3 separate regions of the Homo sapiens genome follow, and regions 1 and 3 are each linked to region 2. The links are contacts of gene promoters, found by promoter capture Hi-C in blood cells and fetal thymus (Javierre and others, 2016). All regions are on one chromosome and are shown on one strand. Each heading gives the region's core, a stretch centred on a gene start or on the middle of the fragment in contact. The rest is flanking DNA. Distances are from core to core; before and after follow the strand shown. Region 1 holds the start of PSD (pleckstrin and Sec7 domain containing). Region 2 overlaps PPRC1 (PPARG related coactivator 1). Region 3 holds the start of KCNIP2-AS1 (KCNIP2 antisense RNA 1).

Evidence for each region. The method cuts DNA at HindIII sites, captures the fragments that hold promoters and counts their contacts. A CHiCAGO score of 5 or more calls a contact.
Region 1: the fragment with the promoter of PSD here is called in contact with a fragment that was not itself captured in region 2 in 6 of 17 cell types (endothelial precursors, M1 macrophages, erythroblasts and 3 more); the score reaches 9.3 in endothelial precursors.
Region 3: the fragment with the promoter of KCNIP2-AS1 here is called in contact with a fragment that was not itself captured in region 2 in 7 of 17 cell types (naive B cells, total CD8 T cells, total B cells and 4 more); the score reaches 11.8 in naive B cells.

The regions. Positions count from the first base shown.
Region 1 is chr10:102,417,441-102,420,140 of GRCh38, forward strand. It overlaps PSD (pleckstrin and Sec7 domain containing), which reads right to left and starts at 1,345. Exons shown (of 17, transcript NM_002779.5): 1 at 1,261-1,345. The HindIII fragment of the contact is 10,611 bases long and covers 1-2,700 here.
Region 2 is chr10:102,146,757-102,149,456 of GRCh38, forward strand. It overlaps PPRC1 (PPARG related coactivator 1), which reads left to right. Exons shown (of 14, transcript NM_015062.5): 9 at 1-636; 10 at 1,616-1,765; 11 at 1,872-1,938; 12 at 2,061-2,182; 13 at 2,422-2,573. Among named protein-coding and RNA genes, the nearest start is that of NOLC1, 4.3 kb to the right of the region's middle. The HindIII fragment of the contact is 1,480 bases long and covers 706-2,185 here.
Region 3 is chr10:101,817,658-101,820,357 of GRCh38, forward strand. KCNIP2-AS1 (KCNIP2 antisense RNA 1) reads left to right here and starts at 1,411. Exons shown (of 3, transcript NR_045118.1): 1 at 1,411-1,591. It overlaps OGA (O-GlcNAcase), which reads right to left and starts at 787. Exons shown (of 16, transcript NM_012215.5): 1 at 167-787. The coding sequence starts at 365. RefSeq lists enhancers at 320-895, 697-816 and silencers at 347-406, 487-546. The HindIII fragment of the contact is 3,022 bases long and covers 866-2,700 here.

The DNA.
Region 1 (2,700 bases), core at 95-2,594, 270 kb after region 2:
AGGGGAAGTTGGTACCCCACCCTCTGGAAAAGGGGTGTCAGCCAGCTGTCACCATCATACAGCCCTGTGACCCCTATAGTCTCTCTTATGGAGGCCCCTCACTCAGGGAAGGGAAACTCAGGCCTCCTGGAAGGAGAGGGAAGAGGAACAGGTGTTATATAGGGATGCTGAAGGGCTGAGAGGCACAGCATGGAAGTGGGGAGAAAAGCCTGAGCAGAGGCTCCTACCCCCAATATATACATACTGAGTGGGAAAGGGACATTCTTCTTTTTTTTTTTTTTTTTTGAGATGGAGTTTCGCCCCTGCTGCCCAGGCTGGAGTGGAATGGCGCTATCTCAGCTCACTGCAACCTCCGCCTCCCAAGTTCAAGTGATTCTCCTGCCTCAGACTCCTGAATAGCTTGGATTACAGGCGCTCAGCACTATGCCTGGCTAATTTTTGTATTTTTAGTAGAGATGGAGTTTCACCATGTTGTCCAGGCTAGTTTCAAACTCCTGACCTCAGGGGATCCACCCACTTTGGCCTCCCAAAGTGTTGGGATTACAGGCGTGAGCCACCGCACCCGGCCAGGGACATTCTTTTCTTCATACAGGTACAGACAGGCACCTACACACACACAAACACACACACACACACACACACACACACACGCACACACATACATAAGGACAAATATGTCAGTACACAGTTAAACACATTCATAGGCAACACCCTCTGGCACACACACAGACACACACACACACACACTGCTCAAAGACACACCCTCATGCACTCTCACAGTCATAACAAGTATGTGTGTAATGAAAAGGCACATGCTTGTTTTACACACACACCATCATCAAACAGGAACACACAAAGAGGTACCCAAATATATACACAAGCTGTCATTCTCCAGTGCACACAGAGGTCCAGGTGTATCAGACACTCACAGAGACCTACTGCTCACAGTCACATACACATACAGATGTACACATACAGATGTACACACTCAAGCAGGGACACACACCGTCCCCTCCCCCCCACCTACTGGGGTCTCTTGAGGGGAATCTGCACCCATATTCCTCTCCTCTCCCTCTCTCCCCAGGGGTAAGACAGATCCCGCCCAGGAGAGACCATAACCAGGTAAAGGGGCCTCTGGTGGCAATGCAGGGGAGGGGCAGAGGTCAGGAGTAGCAACCCTGCCAGGCAGGTTCCGGAAGCTCAACGGGGTCCCAGCGCATACCCGGTGCAGCCCCAACTCAATGCCACCTCAGTACTCACCGCTGCTCGCCCAGAGCTGAGACCGAGGAGAGACAGAGGAGAGGCTGGGCCCAGCTGAGCTGTGAAGGCAGCGCGGCTCCCGTTTGCTCCAGGCCCGCCCGCCTCTCAGTCCCTCCCCCTACCCCCTACGCGCCGCTCAGGCAACGCTAATCCCCCCCACCCCCCGCCCTCTCCCAGGGCCCAGAGCCCCGGAGGCTGCCAGCCCCCCTTGTCGCTAGGTCCCCGCTGGGCTCTCCCGCCAACCTAAGACCCGCCCCAGACAAGGAGGAGGGCGCATGGAACCCCTGGTTCTATTCCCCAGACCCTCACGTGCCCCACCCCACTTGTGTCCACGTCTCTCTCGCCCACCGCCCCTTGAGCCACACGTAAGGCCCGGCTGCACACGCGTGTCCCGCTCCAGACCCCACGCGTGTCCCTAGGAGGCTGCCACATGACCTGTTACATGCCACACGCGCTCCCGCCCCCACGAGCACGCGGCCGCGCCAAGCACACGGTATGGGTGTAGACTGGACCCGCCCCCTAAATCCAGGAGACCATCAACTATGGAAAGGAGATCTAGGGAACACCGTCTTGAACCCGCCAGGGGTTTTGAGTCTCGGACCCAGGAGATCCAACCCTGACCACCCTCCCAGGATGCAGCAGGGGGATGTTAAATCAGACTTCAGGAAGAACTTCCTTGCTGCCTGAGTTAGGTGTCGTCACGCCTGCCCAGGGGTAAGAGGTTAGACGGGATGAACTAGGGACCGGAAGACGTGGGGGACCGGCAACCCTTGTGCCCTTGGCCAGGGTAGAAGGGGGCCCTGCTATTTTAAGAAAGAGCCGCTGGAGTTACTATGGCAACTACTCTCTTTGGGAGGGCCAGGGCGGGCAGATGGTGACCTCGGAAGGAAGAAGGGGTCTGTTCGGGCAGTCAGGGGGCGCGAGGACGTGCGAGGCGGGGGCGCGCGGGGCTCACCGCGGGGAGGGGCGGCGCGGACTCCGCGTGGTGCTGAAGGGGACAGCGCCAGATTTGTCGCACTGCGCAGGCGCAGAGGCGCGAACAAAGAGGGGAGGGGGACGAGGCGCGCGGCCGGAGGTGGTGCGCGCTCACGTGGCTCTATCTTTGCAGGGGTCTGTCCTCCCAGCTACCCCCTCCCTAAGCAGGCTGAGGAAGAAGAGATAGCAAGCCCTCACCTAACTTGACCCCTTTCTTGTCTCTCCCCGCTGCTAGCTTCTCCCTTCTCGCTGCCTTGCGGGGTGGGGAAACGTGGAAGGAATTCTGGGAAAACCAGATGTCTGGGTTCTCTATTCCCGTCTGGCTTGATTCTGGACAAGGGGCTTCCTCTCCAGGGCCTCGGTTTCCCCATCTTTAAAATGGACTGATAGCATAGACCTGCCCACCTTTCAGAGGTGCCCGAAGCCTTGACGAGATAACAGATGAGAAGTGGTTTTCGTTGTGAT
Region 2 (2,700 bases), core at 196-2,695:
GTCCACCGCCCAGGAGGGAACCCTGAAGCCTGAAGGAGTTACGGAGGCCAAACATCCAGCTGCAGTTCGCCTCCAAGAAGGGGTCCATGGCCCTAGTCGAGTCCATGTGGGCTCTGGGGACCATGACTATTGTGTCCGGAGCAGGACCCCCCCAAAAAAGATGCCTGCCCTAGTCATTCCAGAGGTGGGCTCCCGATGGAATGTCAAGCGCCATCAGGACATCACCATCAAACCTGTCTTGTCCTTGGGCCCAGCTGCCCCTCCGCCCCCATGCATAGCTGCCTCCCGGGAGCCGCTTGATCACAGGACTAGCAGTGAGCAGGCAGATCCCTCAGCACCCTGCCTTGCCCCATCCAGCTTGCTGTCCCCTGAGGCCTCACCCTGCCGGAATGACATGAACACTAGGACTCCCCCTGAACCCTCAGCCAAGCAGCGGTCAATGCGCTGTTACCGAAAAGCCTGCAGGTCAGCCAGCCCCTCAAGCCAGGGCTGGCAGGGCCGCCGAGGCCGCAACAGCCGTTCTGTCAGCTCTGGGTCCAACCGGACTAGCGAAGCATCTTCCTCATCCTCATCATCGTCTTCCTCATCCCGATCTCGGTCCAGGTCCCTCTCCCCCCCACACAAGAGGTGGCGAAGGTGAGCTTTGATGGCCCTGTAGGTCCTCTCCATTTAGGAAGTTCACGTACTTCTGTGGTTTACTTTGAAAGCTTTTACCCGTTGACTTTGGTACTTTCAGGCGCTAAGGCTTCTATTTCTGACTTTGGCTTTTGTGTTTTCCCTTTTCCTGGATTGTTGAAGGAGGCAAGCTGTGAGACAATTGCTTCTGTCCCCTGTTGGAGCTTGGGGTGTCAGGTCTCCTGCTTCTTTGAGACCTGCCTTGGGGAGACTTTTAGGGTTTGATTTTGACCATGTTGATTTTTTTCACATACTGTATCAGCCTTCATTTTTGGTATTCTGGGCGCTATGTGAGGTAGTGGGTTACTTGTTAATAGAAAATAGTTCTTCCCTTAATCATCTGCTGAGGAAGGTGTCTGGGGCAGTTCCTTTGGGTGTCACTATGGCCTCATCTATTTCCTGGCAGTATCTTTTTTTCTCAGTAACCAAGTTTTCCCACTTAATGAAGAATTCTTGGGTTTTGGAGATGATATATGTCTTCAGAACTGGCCCATACTACAAGTCTAGCAGTTAACCTCTCTCATGGTCACAGTATTTCAGTGAGACCTGGTAGGGGAGCAATAGTAACCCAAAAGACCCAGGCTTGGCCCCAGCACCACAGATAGCTGGGTGTGAGACCTAGGGCTCACCCCTCTCCCTGAGTCTCCATTTATTGTTCTTCCTCTTTCTGATTTGTTAAATATTTTTCAATTTTTAAGTGCACAATTGAAAATGTGATCTCTTCCAAAACACTTCACAACATTCCAGGTACACCTAAAGTTCCATGAAGGGCCTCAGTTTGTTCATCTCTGAATGAAAATTGTTCTTCTAGACCTCTTCTACTCTGCTTTGTCTTTGGTCCTGAGCTTCCTAAAAGAAAGGCAGGACTGGGGCCTGGGTGAGATAAGCAGAGTATACCTGAACCACTCCCAGCATTCCTGCATGCCCTCTTATCCTTCAGGTCCAGCTGTAGTTCCTCTGGACGTTCTCGAAGATGCTCTTCCTCTTCTTCGTCATCATCTTCCTCTTCGTCTTCCTCATCCTCATCATCCAGTTCTCGAAGCCGCTCACGATCCCCATCCCCCCGCCGGAGAAGTGACAGGAGGCGGCGGTGAGCATGTGTTCAGGGAGCGCCATGCACCTGGGATGCAGGTGCCTAAGAGTTGAGTCTTGAATTGTCTTATGTTTGGGGGGCTGATGACACCCTCTTTTGTCAGGTACAGCTCTTATCGTTCACATGACCATTACCAAAGGCAAAGAGTGCTACAAAAGGAGCGTGCAATAGTGAGTAGAGGAACAGATCATGGGAGGATGGGGCTTACCCCCTGAGCCTTGAGCTCAGAGAGCTGCCTGCAGCTGTAGCCCTGGCTAATGGTGTGTTGATTTTTTTTCATTTCCAAACATAGGAAGAAAGAAGGGTGGTCTTCATTGGAAAGATACCTGGCCGCATGACTCGATCAGAGCTGAAACAGAGGTTCTCCGTTTTTGGAGAGATTGAGGAGTGCACCATCCACTTCCGTGTCCAAGGGTAAGCTTGGGCCCCAGGCTCAGGATGTTCTTTCTATCCCATTCATCTACCTTGGTGTTTCTTTGTCTTGCCTCCTTGCTCTGGTGTGCTGAGCAATATGGGGCACCTTCATTTCTGCAGTCAGAGGGTTGGCCACTGGGAATGAGAAGAACCACCTCTGTACCTTGGGATGCTGTGTCTCCTCTATGGCATGGGCCCATATAGCCACTCCAGCCCCTGCCTCACTCTCCTCCTACTAGGGACAACTACGGCTTCGTCACTTATCGCTATGCTGAGGAGGCATTTGCAGCCATTGAGAGTGGCCACAAGCTGCGGCAGGCAGATGAGCAGCCCTTTGATCTCTGCTTTGGGGGCCGAAGGCAGTTCTGCAAGAGGAGCTATTCTGATCTTGGTGAGTGGAGGGAGGGCCTAAAGCTTTGGAATGCTTCATCCCCTCCCCAGAAGGGTTCCTAACCCTTTGTGAGTGGGGCTAGGCAGACTTACCTTAGTTTGACATACAAAGAACCCAAGGGGGCTGG
Region 3 (2,700 bases), core at 161-2,660, 330 kb before region 2:
CAAGGAGATTCGCCCAACATCTCGTCTCTCCCCTCGCTTTAGGAGGGCCACATTTCAGACCCAGAGGCTTTCCGGCCTTTTAGAGTCTCCAAAATCCCCGCCACCACCCTCCTCCCGAGGACAGAACGTGTTAGTGCCAAAACGGGGAGGGAAGGAGGGCGCTCACCTTCCACCACACCGCAGAGGAACCGCCGAGCCCCTCCTGCAGCCCCGGCCACCGCCGCTCCCCCAGCCCCGGCGGGGTTGTCTTCTCCGGGTGCCGGAGCTGCCGGCGGCTCCAGCGATGCCCCCGCAGAGGCGGCAGGGTTGGAGCTGAGCTCGCTCTCCCGCTCCTCCAACGTCGCTTGACTCTCCTTCTGCACCATCCTCCTGCCCCCGGCCGCTGCCACCTCTGCGGGTCCTCCTCGACCTCTGTCCGTTGGGGCACCGGCCCGGAGCCCTGGAGAGGGCTTCAGCTCCAAGTGTGCGCCCCTCCGGCTCCTTCCCCTCCCCCTCTGCCCTTCCCCCTCCCTCTCCGCAGGGACCCGAATGCCCGGATGAGAAGGGCGGCGGCACCGGCGCGAGCCCTTTGTCAGCCGCAGCCTCGGCTTTAAGCTGGGGCGCCAGAAGCCTAAGCGGAGAGCGAGGCTGTGACCTCTCGTTCCCTGGAAGAAGACGGCCAAGGGTCCTGTCCTCGTTCTCTGCCTCTGCTGCCCTCCCGATAATCTTAGGTCTTCCGCTGTTTCCCCTCCAAGCCCCGAGCTCTCCCTCTGCTGCTGCCTCCACCGCCCGCTTCCTGTTTATCCGCACTGCGCTTGCGCTGCAGACCGGCTCAGACCGGTCCCCTCCGCCCGGCTCCCCCGCCTTCTTTGGGGCTAGCCTATTAAGCTTCTTTAGGTAGGGGGAAATAGAACAGGAGACGCGAAAAGCAGAAGGTAATGAAGGCAGTGGAATGTACCATTTCTGCTTGCCACCCTCCGAAACAAGCCTGGCACCCTGGGACGGACGGACCATTACCCGCCCCGAAGGAGGGGAGTATGGGAGGAGGCTGCCGCCGGTTGGGGCAATAGGGAGAAGGGGGGAAGGTGAAAAGGAGAGGTGTTTATTCTCTCAGTGCGCAGGCGCGGAGCCGCGGCCTCTCGTTCTTAAAGAGATAGGAAAGAACTGACCTACTTTCTATGGAGATTCTTGTAATAGGTGGGCTCATTACATCTGCCTAACCCAGGCTTGGTTCGGTAAAGACACCATTCCAAGGAGCTCAGCTCACCCCTCTGCCTTGAATCATTTTCCCCTAATCCCATTTAAAATGTAATCATTCGTTCATTCCTTCATTCAGTAGACATCTATAGAGCTTGCCTCGTGCTGGGCTCTAGAACACTATGAGCTCACAGTACGGTGGTGGAGACAAGCCACCACACACGCAGTTCCCACAAGGTGTCCCCAAGAACTTCGGAGCTCAGAACAGGTGATACTCACTCCTCCTTTGGGGAGAGGCCGTGGGCATGGCTTCACTTTTCAGCTGGATTATAAAGGATGTGAAGTTAGCCTGACTGAGCAGAAGGGGAGGGAAGACAGCACTCCAGGAAAGTGGAACGAACAACAGAGTCCAAAGGTAGGGAGGCATGAAAAGCCTGCCTTGTTTGGGAATGGGGAGCGCGCGGTGTGTGCAGTGGGGCATGAGATCCCTTCGGCCTCGGCATGGGCATCGCTTCCTTGGGAAGCCTTCCCTGAGCCCTAGATGGGTTTGGGTCTCCTTGCTGTATGTTCTCAGAGCTCTCTTGTAGACCTACCCTAATGCACTTTACATTTATGATGCTTGAGAAATCTATCTCAACCTGTGAGGTATAAACATGAAATGATGATTAAGACTTAGTAATGTCCATCTTACACTTCAGTCTGATATTTACCTTCTTTAGCCGTAGCCCAACTTGTAGTTTCAGGGACTTTCATGGTCCCTCTTCTTTTCAGTCCTGGATTGTTGAGATGGGGGTTAGGAGCAAACTTTTTTTTTTTTTTTGAGACAGAGTTTCACTCTGTCGCCCAGGCTGGAGCGCAGGAGCGCAGTGGCGCAATCTCGGCTCACTGCAGCCTTCACCTCCTGGGCTCAGGCTATTCTCCTGCCTCAACCTCTCGAGTAGCTGAGACTACAGGCACCCGCCACCACACCCGGCTAATTTTGTGTTTTTAATAGAGACGGGGTTTCGCCACGTTGACTAGGCTAGTCTTGAACTCCTGACCTCAGGTGATCCACCTGCCTCGGCCTCCCAAAGTGCTGGGATTACAGGTGTGAGCCACCGCGCCCGGCCGGACAAGCATTTTCTTAAGGGACCTCCTGTGCTGAGAGTTAGGGGCCATAGCAGCTTTACTGGATATTGTGGTCCGTTGGGGTTGAGAACACAATTTTTTTTTTTTTTTTTTTTTTGTAAGAGAAGAGGTCTCATTTTGCCACGCAGGCTAGTGCAATCATAGCTTAAGTATCGAATTCCTGGGCTCTCAAGGGATCTTCCCGCCTTAGCCATCCCGAGTAGCTGGGACTATAGGCGAGTGCCCGCCACCACACTCTTTTAATTTGTTCATTTTTGGTAGAGACGGGGGTCTCAACATCTTGCCCAAGCTGGTCTCAAACTCTTGGGCTCAGGTGATCCTCCAGTCTCAGCCTCCCAAAGTGCTGGGATTACAGACACGTGCCACCTCACCTGGCCGAAAAGAACTTTTATCTGA